Linked DNA regions of Homo sapiens: region 1 is linked to region 2. The links are contacts of gene promoters, found by promoter capture Hi-C in human tissues and cell types (Jung and others, 2019). All regions are on one chromosome and are shown on one strand. Each heading gives the region's core, a stretch centred on a gene start or on the middle of the fragment in contact. The rest is flanking DNA. Distances are from core to core; before and after follow the strand shown.

Evidence for each region. Contacts are between HindIII fragments. The study calls those that stand out against the background at their distance.
Region 1: the fragment with the promoter of CDK5RAP1 here is called in contact with the fragment with the promoter of SNTA1 in region 2 in 1 of the 25 tissues and cell types used here (psoas muscle).

What each region holds. Positions count from the first base shown.
Region 1 is chr20:33,397,397-33,404,654 of GRCh38, forward strand. CDK5RAP1 (CDK5RAP1 mitochondrial tRNA methylthiotransferase) reads right to left here and starts at 4,123. Exons shown (of 14, transcript NM_016408.4): 1 at 4,032-4,123. LOC124904889 (a long non-coding RNA gene) reads left to right here and starts at 4,186. Exons shown (of 2, transcript XR_007067567.1): 1 at 4,186-4,279. RefSeq lists enhancers at 3,834-3,923, 4,064-4,263. The HindIII fragment of the contact is 17,720 bases long and covers 1-7,258 here.
Region 2 is chr20:33,442,332-33,449,443 of GRCh38, forward strand. It overlaps SNTA1 (syntrophin alpha 1), which reads right to left and starts at 1,432. Exons shown (of 8, transcript NM_003098.3): 1 at 980-1,432. The coding sequence starts at 1,289. RefSeq lists silencers at 978-1,037, 1,148-1,627 and enhancers at 1,858-1,927, 1,906-2,406, 2,378-2,437. The HindIII fragment of the contact is 21,074 bases long and covers 1-5,148 here.

The sequences.
Region 1 (7,258 bases), core at 2,873-5,372, 42 kb before region 2:
AGTGTATTAACTCATTAAATCTTTACAGCAATCCTAGGAAGCAGATACTATTATTGTTCCTATTCCGAAAGACATAGGTTGAGGAACTCACCTAAGCTCCTACAGCCAGTAAGCAGTCAAACAAGGACTCAGATAAAAATCTGTATGGATGCAAAGCCCGTGCCACTACCCATCTTGCTACACTGCCTCTTAATAAAGTGAAAACCACTCACTGTCTGAGGGCATCTTCCTTTGAGTTCCTTCAGAAGGAAAGCAACTAATGTGAGGGCATTGTATGCCCGATCAGTGACTCCTTCTACCCTTCAAGAGTCTTGGCTGGATGCAGCCGCTCATGCCTGTAATCCCAGGACTTTGGGAGGCCGAGGCAGGAGGATCACTTGAGGTCAGGAGTTCAAGACCAGCCTGACCAACATGGCAAAACCCCATTTCTACTAAAAATACAAAAGTTAGCCAGATGTGGTAGCAAGTGCCTATAGTCCCAACTACTCAGGAGGCTGAGACAGGAGAATCACTGGAACCCAGGAAGCAGAAGTTGCTATGAACCGAGATCGCACCACTGCACTACAGTTTGGACAACAGAGCGAAACTCCATCTCAAAACAAAAAAAAAAGAGTTTCAAACTACTACCTTCAAACTTTCCACCCAGACCCTCTCACACTTGGCTTAGCAAATAACACAACCTTTATAGAGAACAATTTGCCACTTTCCATCAAAATTACAAGTGTGCAAACCATCTGACAAAGCATTTCCACTCATAATTATCCTGCAGATAAATCTATACACATACAAAATGACCTATGTATAAAGACATTCAGTCTAGGCACAGTGGCTCATGCCTGTAATCCCAGCACTTTGGGACGCTGAGGCTGGTGGATCACTTCAGGCCAGGAGTTCGAGACCAGCCTGGCCAACACAGTGAAACCTCATCTCTACTAAAAATACAAAAAATTAGCTGGATGTGGTGGCACACACCTGTATTCTAAGATACCCGGGAGACTGAGGCATGAGAATCTCTTGAGCTCAGGAGGAGAAGGTTGCAGTGAGCCAAGATCACGCCACTGCACTCTAGCCTGGGCAACAGAGTGAGACTGTCTCAAAAAATAAAAATAAAAGATATTCAATGCAACAGTGTTTCTAATAGCAAAGGAAAGGGAAAGATCTAAATGTTATCAATAAAGGACTAGTTAAGTAAGTTCTGGTGCATCCATACAATGAAACAAGATACAACTGTTAGAAACCAAGGCTGGTGGCCGGGTGCAGTGGCTCATGCCTATAATCCCAGCATTTTGGGAAGCTGAGACAGAAACATCACTTGAGCCAGGAATTCGAGACCAGCCTGGGCAACATAGTGAGACCTCATCTCTATAAAAATAACAAAAAATAGCCGAGCACAGTGATGCACACCTGTAGTCCCAGCTACTCAGGAGGTTGAGATGAAAGGATTGCTTGAGCCCAGGAGATCAATGCTGCAGTAAGCCATAATCGCACCACTGCACTCCAGCCTGGGTGACAGAGTAAGACCCTATCTCAAAAAAATAAAAATAAAAATAAATGAGGCTGAACCTATACATGACAAAGGCAAGGAAGCAATATGCTCCATGCTACCTACATTATACTACTGTTGAATCTGTGGGGAAAGAGGGTGGGAATATTGAGGTACCTATTTGCAGGTACATACAATATCTCTAGAATGCATAAGAAACAATAGTTGCCTCCCAGGAAGACTTAGGTGACTAAGGTATAGGAGATGAAGCCATACTATTTACTTTTTTTTTTTTTAATTTTCTGACTAAGGAAGAATTCTAGGATCACCATATATTTTTACTGGACCCCACATCTATGGCCTACTACACTCCAGCCATGCCACACTTCTTTGTATTAATCTTCACTAGCTTATAGGATTTTACACATGCTGTTCTCTGGCTGGTATTTATCTTCTCTCTAGTGGCCTATGGTACTTTCAGCTTTCTTCCTCTGGGAAGCCTGCTCTGGCCATCACCCCCGAAGTCTAGGTGGGGTCCTCCTCTGGGTTCCCAAAGCTCTATTCTATCTCTCCATCACAAGACTCATCACACTTTGCTGTTAATTATTACTGACACTTCTGCCAGCCCTAGTAAACTGGCAGGTTCCTGCAAGCAGGGAACAAGTATCATTCATTTCTACACCTTCACCATCTCCCATTGTGGTAGCTGCCTCACGGCAGGTGCTAAACATCAGTGGTTCCCAACCTTTTTGGTACTAGGAATTGGTTTCATGGAAGACAATTTTTCCACAGACATGGAAGCAGGGGTGTGTTGAAACTGTTCCACCTCAGGCATTTAGATTCTTACAAGGAGCATGCAATCTTGAGCCAGTGCGGTGGCTGACATCTATAATCCCAGCACTTTGGGAGGCCGAGGCAGGCGGATTGTTTGAGCTCAGGAGTTCGAGACCAGCCTGGGCAACATGGCAAGACCATGTTTATTTGTTGTCTCTACAACAAATTAAAAAATAAAAAATTAGCCAGCCATTGTGGTATGTGCCTGTAATCCCAGCAACTTGGGAAGCTGAGGTAGGAGGATCACTTGAGCCAGGGAGGCAGAGATTGCAGTGAGCTGAGATTGCGCCACCACACTCCAGCCTGGGCAACAGAGAGAGAGAGAACTTGTCTCAAAAAAAAGGAAATGGAATGCACAAACTAGATGCCTTGCATATACGCAGTTCACAATAGGGTTTGTGTTCCTGAGAAACTAATTCCGTGGCCAATCTGACGGGAGGCAGAGCTCAGGCAGTAATGCCAGCTTTGCTGCTCACCTCCTGCTGTGCAACCCGGTTCCTCACAGGCCACAGACAGGTACCATTCTACCACCTAGGGTTAGGGGAACCCTGCTATACACGTGTAAAGAGCAGATGTGGCCCATTACCTTTCCAATGAGATGACCTGCCACATCTGCTACTAGCACTTAGGAGCAATGCCAACCCAGTTTCAAGAGTCAGAGAAGAACAGCCTTAAAGTGTGAACTTTAAAATCGCCCCTTTCTACTCCATAATTGCTGTGTGACCTTTGGCAAGACAAATTTCTGTCTCTGAGCCGCCAATTCCACATGTGTAAAATAAGGATAAAAGCAGCACCTACCACCCCATAAGTGTTATTAAGAATAAGATATTAAAAACCCAACTTGAGATACAGTAAGCGTTCACTAACTGCACATTTACAGCCCACACCCCCTTTCACAGAGAGTATTAGAGCATCCTGGTTAAGAGTATGAACTCCACTAAAAATACAAAACTTAGCCGGGTGTGGTGGTATGCGCCTGTAATCCTAGCTACCCAGGAGGCTGAGGCAGGAGAATCGCTGGAACTCGCGGGGCAGGGGCTACAGTGAGCCGAGATCGCGTCACTGCACTCCAGCCTGGGCGACAGAGCAAGACTCCCGTCTCAAGAAAAAAAAAGTATGGACCCTGGAGTCAGAATCTGACCCCACTGCTGCCAAGCCAGCTAAACCTTAGGCACCTGTCTTAAACTCTGGGAGCCTCTAGATGGGGATAATAGCACCTATCTCCATAAGCCTACCGTAGGATCAAATGCAATAATACAAGCAAAATGCTTTGCATAACGCAATGTAGAAGCCTCTCTGGAGGCTCGAAATTAATTCTGACAGTCGGCAATGAGGCTGGAACAACAGCGTACAACATCCCAAACATTTTATTGGCTGGTTACAATGCGTTAGGCATGGTGCAAAGCATTTTCCGCGAATTATTACCTATAACCCTCATAGCAACCCTGTGAGGCAGGCTGTACTGTCAACCCCACTTCACGGGTGGCGAAGCGAAGCCTTGAAAGAAGTGGAGGTGACCTGTCCAAGGTCACACGGGGTTAGGCGGCGGGGTTAGGGTACGAACCCCTACAGCCTGACGCCAGGCCCCACGCCATAACCACCGTGCCATCCTCCCTCTTGAACACCGTGCGCTTCCCGGGATCCGCGGCCCCTCCTGCCCCAGGCGCCAGTCAAAAGCGGGTGCGCAGCCCACCCCGGCGGCCGCGCTGCTCACCTCCCGCAGCAGCAACAGTGCCCGGGGTCCCGCAGCGTAAGTTCTGCCGGCAAGTCGGATCCCCTCACAGGTCCGCCGCTGCGTTCATACACAAGCGACTTCCGTTCCGCCGCTACTTCAGGCCGGGTCATGCTAACGGAAGTGCTTCCTTTTTACAGTCCGGGTGGACCCAAAGCTCCGTGGCGGTGCTGAACTTTAGGGCAGCCACTAGCCACGGACTTAAGCGGCAATTGAGCTCCTCAAAGTGGGTGAGTGCAAATCAAATGTGCGCTAAATGTCAGATACACTGGATGTGGAAGAAGAAATGTCAAATAGTGTCAAATAGTTCATATATATAATGTTTATATTGATTATGTGCTGCAATAATTGTTGGGATATATTGGATTAAATAAGTACATTTGTTGAATTAGTTTTTTTTATTTGTAGCTATGGTGGTAGAAATATTTGAATTAAGTTCACCTGTTGTTTCTTTTTACTTTTTCAATGTGGCTAGCAGGGGGAAAAATAATATGGTGTGATCATGGCTCACTGCAGCTTCCGCCTCCCATGCTAAAGCAATCCTCCCACCTCACACTCCCAAGTGGCTGGGACTACAGGCAGGCGCCACCACGCCCAGCTAAAATTTTTTTAATTTTTTTGTAGAGACCGGTCTCCCCATGTTGCCCAGGCTGGTCTCAAACTCCTACCTAGGCGCAAGCCATCCTCCCACCTTGGCCTCCCAAAGTGCTGGGATTGTAGGCATGAGCCACCGTGTCCGGTCCTTACTGGGAAATTTTAAGTCACCTAAGAGGTTCACGCTCTATTTCTATTGGAGGGTGCTGCCCTGTAGGTTAATGACTTCCTGATTCACATCTCCAGCTGGACCCTCCCTGCAGTACCAGAGCCATAGCTCAGCTGCCTACTTGACACCCCTTCTTGAGTGTCTGATGACCATCTCTAACTTATACAGAACTCTTCATTTCCACACATGCACCTTCACCAAAAACCTGTACCTGTCATTCTGGCCCATCTCAGTAAATGGCCCAACCATCCTTCCAGGTGCACTAGGAGGAACTGAATGGTCATTTTCTTCACCTCCCTGGATCCCCACATTCTATCTGTCAGTAAGCCCTGTCAACTCTAACTCCAAAATGTCAAATCTGTCTACTCGGTAGCTACAACTACCCAGGCCACCATTGTCTCATCAGAAACAATCACAGTAGCCTGCTAATGGTCACCTTGTCTCCTGAGAACAGTTTCCCACACATAGCCTAAGGGAATTTGTGTTTGTTTTATTAAATCAAATTATATCACCCCTCTCCTGAAAACTCTCCGTGGCAGGCCGGGCGTGGTGGCTCACATCTGTAATCCCAGCACTTTGGGAGGCCAAGATGGGCAGATTGCTTGAGCCCAGGAGTTCTAGACTAGCCTGAGCAACATGATAAAACCCCATCTCTACAAAAAACACAAAAATTACCCCGGCATGGTGGTGGGTACCTGTGGTCCCAGCTACTCAGAAGGCTGAGGCAGGGAGGATTGCTTGAGCCAGGGAAGTTGAGGCGGCAGTGAACCATGACCTCAACACTGCACTCCAGCCTGGGTACCAGAATGAGACCATGTCTTGAAAAAGAAAAAAACAAAAACAGCCGGGCACGGTGGCTTATGCCTGTAATCCCAGCACTTTGGGAGGCTGAGGTGGGTGGATCATGAGGTCAGGAATTCGAGACCAGCCTGGCCAATATGGTAAAACCCCGTCTCTACTAAAAATAAAAAATAAAAAATAGCTGGGCATGGTGCCGCGTGCCTGTAGTCCCAGCTACTCGGGAGGCTGAGGCAGGACAATTGCTTGAACCCAGGAAGCGGAGATTGCAGTGAGCCAAGATCGAGCCACTGCACTCCAGCCTGGGCGACAGAGCAAGACTCCATCTCAAAAAAAAAAAAAAAAAGAAAAGAAAAGAAAAAAACAAAAACAAAAAGCTTAAGAGCTTTCCATTGCCCGTGCAATAAAATCCAGATTTCCTACTGTATCCTAGGGGCCTGCATGATGTGGCCCCTGCTTTTTTTTTTTGAGACGACGTCTCACTCACTCTGTCGCCCAGGCTGGAGTGCAGTAGTGCAATCTCGGCTCACTGCAACATCCGCCTCCCAGGTTAAAGCGACTCTCCTGCCTCAGCCTCCCGAGTAGCTGGGATTACAGGCGTGCACCACCACGTCAAACTAATTTTTGTATTTTTAGTAGAGCAGGGTTTCACCATGTTGGCCAGATTGGTCTCAAACTCCTGGCCTCAAGTGATCCGCCCACCTCGACCTCCTAAAGTGCTAGGATTAGAGGCGAGCACCACCACGCCCGGCTGATTTTTGTTTTTACTAGAGATGGGTTTTCGCCATGTTGGCCAGGCTGGTCTCAAACTCCTGGCCTCAAGTGATCCTCCCACCTCAGCCTGCCAAAGTGCTGGAATTACAAGCATGAGCCACCATGTCTGGCCCCCTGCTTACTTTTACTTCTCCAACCCATGTACTTCTTACCACTTACTTCTCCTACTGTGTTCTTTCTAGTTGACTATACTTCAACTACATAATTTTATCTTGCTCCTTCAATAACCCAAGCAAATGTTTATTTCAGACCCTCTGTCCTTTTTTTTTTTTCTTTTCTTTTTTGAGACGGAGTCTTGCTCTGTTACCCAGGCTGGAGTGCAATGGCGTGATGTTGGCTCACTACAACCTCCACCTCTCGGGTTCAAGCAATTATCCTGCCACAGCCTCCCAAGTAGCTAGGATTACAGGCACGCAACACCATGCCCACAGAGCTTCTCTTCTTACTATTATCTTTCTGGAATGCTCTTCTCCAAAATTGTTTCGTGGCTGGCCCCTTCTCATCCTTTAGGTCTCAGCATAAATATCAGCTCTTCAGAGAGACCCTCTCTGACCACTTCATATAAACTACTCTATCACTTCTCTTATTATTTTCTTCACCATATTTGTCACTATTCAAAATGTTGGCATTACTTATTTTCTTATCATTGCCTATTCCCTGGACTATCAGCTAGGGAGGGACACGTCGTGTCTTGTTCATGGCTTTATCCCCATGATCTACACAGGGTCTGACTCATAGAAGGGCTTAATGAAAATTTGTTGAATGAATAAATGACTGCTTTCTGTCTTAGTTTGGGCTCCCCAGAAGCAGACCTGAGACAAGTATTTTTTTTTTTTTAGACCAAGTCTCACTCTGTTACACAGGCTGGAGTGTA
Region 2 (7,112 bases), core at 182-2,681:
AGACAAAGGCTGATACCCTTTCCCAAAGCACCTGCTGGGGGCTGGGACCCTGAGAAACAGATGGGCAGGAATAGTGAACCCAGCAGCTGGGGGTGTGCAAGGATTTTAACAACTATGTTTAGTTGCTTTGGGAGTATCTGCTGGCCTCCATTTTTCCTCTCCGCTAACAGCAGTAATTAACTAGGCACCTACAGTGTGCTGGTGTGGTGAGCCCTGCTCTCAGAAACATCACAACTCTGTCATCCTCTTATACAGTTGAGGAAACAGATTCAGAGGCGGGACGGGACTTTTGCAACCTCACACAGCTGATCCTGGATTCAAACACAGTCTGGTTGCACCCTAACTGCACCCCACTAGCGGTCAGTCCTGGGGGCTGAAAGCTCTATCCTGTGCAAGGTGGAGATAGTCAGATCAGGAGACCCAAATCCAGCTGTCAGGGCTCCCTGCAGCCTTCCTGGGTCCTTAGATTCCTAGGTCCTTGCTGGCCTTCTGCCTGTGACCCCAGCCTGTGCCTGCACCCAGGCCTCCTATCCACCCCTGTGCTTCCCAGACTCCAGGCTTCCCCTCTGCACCCACCTTGGTTGCTTCTCAGGGACTCCCTCCTCCCTGTCCCACTGGTGTCCCGGCCTCAACCCCCTTTCTCCACACTCTGCTTTCCGGGGGACCCCTCTTGTCCTTGATGTTCATGCTGGTTACCCCTCAGACCCCCCCGCCTCCACACAGAACTCCCACCCACGTGTCCTTGGTGCTCCCACAATCTTATCCACACCTGTGTCTTCCGTGCCCCCTAAGGCCACCAACTACTGAAACCCCCTCCAACCTTGGTGTGCCCAGTGCCCTCCGTTACCTGTTTCCTCAGACCCCCCTTACCCCCAGACAGGAAGCCTCCAGCTCCATGTCCTGGGCGCGCTGCCAGCCCCCTGCGCCCTCGGCTGCCCCCAGACACCACGACCCCGCGCCCTCGGTGTCCCGCGCCCACCTTTGATGCTGATGCCCAGCCCACCGGCGTCGGCCTTGCGCACCGTCACGCGGCGCCGCTGGAGCAGTAGCGCCTCTGGCAGCTGCGGGGGCCCGGCGCCCGGCTCCGCGGCGCCGTTGAGCTGCGCGGGCTCCTGCTCCCGCGGAGCGCCGGGCTCGGGACCAGGGTCGCCGTCGGCGGGGCTCACGGTCAGCACGTCCTCCGCCAGACTCAGCAGCACCCGCTGCCATCGCTCGCCGCCGGCCCCCGAGCCCGCCCCGGCGCGCAGCTCCAGCAGCCCGGTGCGCGGGGCGCGCCTGCCGGACGCCATCTTCGCCTCCGAGCCCCCGGGCCGCCGCGCTCGCCCTGTCCCGCTTTGCCCAGCCCGCTCCGACCAAGCGCCCAGGGCAGAGGGCAGCGGGGGCCCGGCTGGGCCAGCCGCCACCCTACCCCGGCCGCTGGGGGAGGAGCTCTGGGGGCGGGGCTACCCTGGGGTGTGGCCAGTGCTGGGGAGGGGGCCTCGGGCAAATGCAGGAGGCCGGGGCGGGGCCCGGGAGCCGAGGGCCGCCGTGTGGGACTACCTAGCGGGGTGGGTCAGAAGGGCGGCGGGGCGGGCCACTAAGTAAGGCGAAAGCCCGGGAGGCGTGGTGCTGGGCGGGGCGTCAGGGGGCGGGGCTTCGCGTCGGGGGCGGAACCCAGTGAGCCCGCGCAGGGGGCTCGGCGCTCGGAATGCCCATCGAGGGCCGGGACTGTAACTCCCGGACGTGGGAGCGCATGAAAAAGAGACAGAACCACGTATCCTGGTGCGAAGCACTGGGCATCGGGCTGGGCTGCATATGGCGGAGGGCTGGGCTGCGTATGGTAGAGCGTTGGACTCCAAGGCTTGAGTTTAAGAGGTAGACACCGTCTGGGCGTGGAGGCTCACGCCTGTAATCCCAACACTTTGGGAGGCCTAGATGACAGCCCAGAAGCTCGAGGCTGCAGTAAGCCGCGATCGCGCCACTGCACTCCAGCCTGGGTGACAGAGCGAAACCCTGTGTCAAAAAAAAAAAAAAAAAAAAAAGGTAGATGCTGAGCCGCGAGAGACCTTGCGGGCACAGTTGCTAGTTGGGGAGCTGAGGAAGAAGTTGGTTTCCTATCGGGGAGGGCGGGGGATGGGGGGTGGGGGTCGAGGCTTTGGTCTGTGGGCGTGGCTTATCGCTGGCGTGGCTTCTAAAGATGACAGGCCCCGCCCCCTGGAGGAGACCGCTACCGACACCGCTTAGGGCTTGGGGGAGGTGTGGGCAGGATCCCCACTTCAAAACTGGAGGGAAGTTTAAGAGATTAACCCCTGGCTGTGTTCACAGTCGAGTATAGAAAAGCCTGAAGTCCCACACTTTGAGGCCTGGCAGAAAAAAAACAGAACTGGTGTGTGGGAAGAGGGTTGCAAGGTGGGGCTCTGGGTCTGGGCGACTGGAGACATGGTTTCTAATCTTTGCTGCCTCTGTTAGCTCCAAGTCGACTTTGGTCCCCTCACGTCACTGCTCTAGGCCTCAATTTCCTCATCTGTAAAATGTGGATCATAATAATACCTACTTCACTGGGCTGGTGTGAGGATTAAATCAATGTGAAAACACGTGGTAAACTGTGACTCCCTATTCTATAGAAATAATCACTTTCATTTAGTGAATGCTTACTCTTACCTAGGGCTGGCAGAATATTTTCCAAGTGTTATCTTTACATTAGCCTCCTGGAGTAGCTAAGAGCACCCCCAGCTGGGCACAGTGGCTCACACCTGTAATCACAGCTGAGGTGGCAGGATCGCTTGAGCCTTGGAGGTCCAGGCTGCAGTGAGCTGTGATTGCACCATCACACTCCAGCCTTGGTGACAGAGCAAGAAAAAAGAGCACCCCTATTATACAGAAGGGAAAACTTGGATTTAGTCTAATTGGCCTAGGTCACACATTTATGAGTGAGGAAGAGCTGCGATTCAAACCCAGGCCTGTTTGACACCAGTGCCTGGGCACTGAACCACTCTGCTAGACAGCTGACAAATACAGAGGTAAAGCATGATTGTAATCTGAAAAATCCACCACATCACACAGCTCAACTGGCCTTCATACCTGCTCCTTGTCTCTATCCTCCATTCCTAGCTGGGATATGTTGAGCAATAAATAAGTAGGACTACACCAGTGTTTAGCCTCCCTGAACTTTTGGGTAAAATCCTCCACATAAGATACCATCAAGAAAAAAAAGAGGGGGCCAGGTATGGTGGCTCATGCCTGTAATCCCAGCACTTTAGGAGGCCGAGGCAGGTAGATCACGAGGTCAGGAGTTTGAGACTCAGCCTGGCCAACATGGTGAAACCCCATCTCTACTAAAAATATAAAAAAATTAGCCGGGCGTGGTGGCAGACACCTATAATCCCAGCTACTCAGGAGGCTGAGGCAGGAGAATCACTTGAACCCGGGAGGCGGAGATTGCAGCAAGCAGAGATTGCACCACTGCACTCCAGCCTGGGTGATAGGGTGAGACTCCGTCTCAAAAAAAAAAAAAAAAAAAACCAACAACAAAAAAAAGGAATTGTTTTAAGTTAGAGTGGTAGGTGTCAAAACAGGAGAGACACAGGTTTTAAAAAAAGAACCCAGGGTCTTTTATACATATATATATGGGATGCCGAGGAGGAATGATCACTTGAGGCTAGGAGTTTGAGACCACTTGGGCAACTTCACGAGACTCCATCTCTACAAAATAAAGAAATTAGCCAAGCGTGGTAATGTGCACCTGTACTCCCAGCTACTTAGGAAGCTGCAGCAGGAGGCCTGTTTGAGGCTGCTGCTGTGAGCCACAATCATGCCACTGCACTCCAGCCTGGGTGACAGAGCAAGACCCTGTCTCAAAAATAAATAAAAGAAAGTGAGAGGAAGGAAGGAGAGAAGGGAGGCAGGGAAGGAATATAGCATTGTATATAAGCATTGATATCTTAAAAGTATGACTGTGCTTAAAGATTGTAGGACAGCCTGAGGAATTTGGGGTAAGCACTTGTGATAAATAACTACAGCCTACTTGGCTTGTGGAAGCTTCACTCCAATGGTAGAGAAGGGAGGGGAGGACAGACCTGGCAGGAGGCAAGAGACCAGCAGGGAATTGAAGCTCCTTTCCCAAGACCAAAGCCTGGAACCAGATCCTTAAAAGTCCCCCCACGTACTGCCCTGCTTAAAAAAGACTTAATGAGGCCCAGACAAACTTACTGAGAAAGAGCCCTAAGAGAGGGCTTCTCCTCTGGGGGACAGTTTCCTGTGGATATAACAGGAAGGAAGGAAGTAGGGAAAGGAGTGATGTGTGCAAAGGGGCTAACACAGAAAGAAGATGTAGAGCCAAGGAAACAGTGACGTGTGTATGCATATGTATACGTCTGTATGTGAGTATGGGTGTGTGTGTTTGTGATCACACTTGATAGGCAGTGCCAATCACCTGTAGCTACCCCCAAGAACCCTGTAGCTGCAGGAATGCTCTATCCCTACACTGTGGTCAGCCGATGCCTCTCTGCTGTGGCTCAGAAATTGGCCTCCCAGATAGATACACATAGGCCCGGCTCCCTGCCAAGCCCCAGGCAGAGCTCCCAGAGAAAACCAGTTCACTCCCAAGGAATAGGAGAGGGGGAAGGGGAAAAAAAGGGAGAGAGGGGAGCTGCCCAGCCTACTAAAGTCTCTGCAAGCTCTGGCCAGGCGCGGTGGCTCACACCTGTAATCCCAGCACTTTAGGAGGCCTAGGCGGCTGGATCACCTGAGGTCAGGAGTTCAACAGCAGCCTGGCCAACATGGTAAAACCCCATTCTCTACAAAAATACGAAAATTAGCTGGGCACGGTGGCTCAAGCCTGTAATCCCAGCACTTTGGGAGGCCGAGGTGGGCAGATCACGAGGTCAAGCTATCGAGACCATCCTGACCAACATGGTGAAACCCCGTCTCTACTAAAATACAAAAACTTGGCTGGGCACGGTGGCTCATGCCTGTAATCCCAGCACTTTGGGAGGCCGAGGCGGGCGGATCGCGAGGTCAGGAGATCAAGACCATTCTGGCTAACACAGTGAAACCCCATCTCTACTAAAAATACAAAAAGAAATTAGCAGGGCGTGGTGGCGGGCGCCTGTAGTCCCAGCTACTCAGGAGGCTGAGGCAGGAGAATGGCGTGAACCTGGGAGGCGGAGCTTGCAGTGAACCAAGATGTGCTGCTGCACCTCAGCCTGGGTGTCAAAGCGAGACTCCGTCTCAAAAAAAAAAAAATCTATGCATAAATCCTAAACAATCTACTGTTTAGTTTTACATTTTTTAACATCACATAAATGGACATTTCTCCTTCTGCTTTTGGAAGTTATATTCTCTAGTTGTATTAAGAGCACTCTATTATCTTCAATTACTTACTCTCCCAAATTATTTGCTATGTTGTTAAGTATTTAGCGCTAAATATTTTTCTTTTTATTTATTTATTATTATTATTTTTTTAAGACGGAGTTTCACTCCTATTGCCCAGGATGGGGTGCAGTGGCGCGATCTCCACTCACTGCAACCTCCGCCTCCCGGGTTCAAGCGATTCTCCTGCCTCAGCCTTCCAAGCAGCTGGGATTACAGGCGCCCGCCATCACACCCAGCTAATTTCTGTATTTTTAGTAAAAACAGGGTTTCTGCAGTGAAACCCCATCTCTACTAAAAATACAAAAAATTGGCCAGGCATGTTGGTACACGCCTGTAGTCCCACCTTCTTGGAAGGCTGAGGCAGGAGAATCTCTTGAACCCAGGAGGCAGATGTTGCAGTGAGCTGAGATCACACCACTGCACTCCAGCCTGGGTGACAGAGTGAGACTCTGTCTCAAAAAAAAAAAAAAAAAGGGGGTTTCACCACGTTGGCCAGGATGGTCTTGAACTCCTGACCTCAGATGATCCGCCCACCTCGGCCTCCCAAAGTGCTGGAATTACAGGTGTGAGCCATCGCACCCAGCCTCTTTTTATTTAGTTTTTTATTTTATTTTATTTTATTTTATTTTGAGACTGAGTCTCACTCTGTCACCCAGGCTGGAGTGCAATGGCACTATCTTGACTCACTGCAACCTCTGCCTCCCAGGTTCAAGCGATTCTTCCAACTCAGCCTCTAGAGTAGCTGGGATTACAGGCACATGCCACCACGCCCAGCTAATTTTTGTATTTTTGTAGAAACGGAATTTCACCATGTTGGCCAGGCTGGTTTCAAACTCCTGACCTCAGGCAACCTGCCCGCCTCAGCCTCCCAAAGTGCTGGGATTACAGGCATGAGCCACTGCACCCAGCCTGAAGGTGGCAGGCAAAGCTTTCTATCAAAGAAGGCCAAATGCCTCTTGCCCAATCTTTAATTATCTCTTAAATTAGAATATCTTACTCAAATCTCCATGTCTCTTAACTTTCTTTCATATCTTCTCTTTACTTTTTTCCATACTGCATTCTGAGTAATTTCTTCAGTGATATCTTCCAGTTTACTAATTCTTTCTTTAACTAGAACTAATCTACTGTTTATCCTATTCTTTGAATTTAAAATATCAATTGTTACTTTTTTATTTCTAGAAATTCTACTTTTTTTTTTTTTTTTTTTTTGAGACGGAGTCTCACTCTGTCACCCAGGCTGGAGTGCAGTGGCACAATCTCAGCTCACTGCAACCTCCACCTCCTGGATTCAAGCAATTCTCCTGCCTCAGCCTCCTGAGTAGCTGGGGTTAAAGGCGCATGCCACCACATCCAGCTAGTTTTGGGGTTTTTTTTGTTTGTTTGTTTGTTTGTTTGAGATGGAATCTCACACTGTTGCCCAAGCTGGAGTGCAGTGTCACGATCTCAGCTCACTGCAACCTCTGCCTCCCAGCTTCAAGGGATTCTCCTGCCTCAGCCTCTCAAATAGCTGGGATTACAGGCACCTGCCACCACGCCCAGCTAATTTTTTGTATTTTCAGTAGAGACAGGGTTTCACTATGTTGGCCAGGCTGGTCTCAAACTCCTGATCTCGTGATCCACCCACCTCGGCCTCCCAAAGTGCTGGGATTACAGGTGTGAGCCACCACGCCCTGCCATAATTTTTGTATTTTTAGTAGAGACAGGGTTTCACCATGTTGATCAGGCTAGTCTTGAACTCCTGACCTCATGATCCGCCTGCC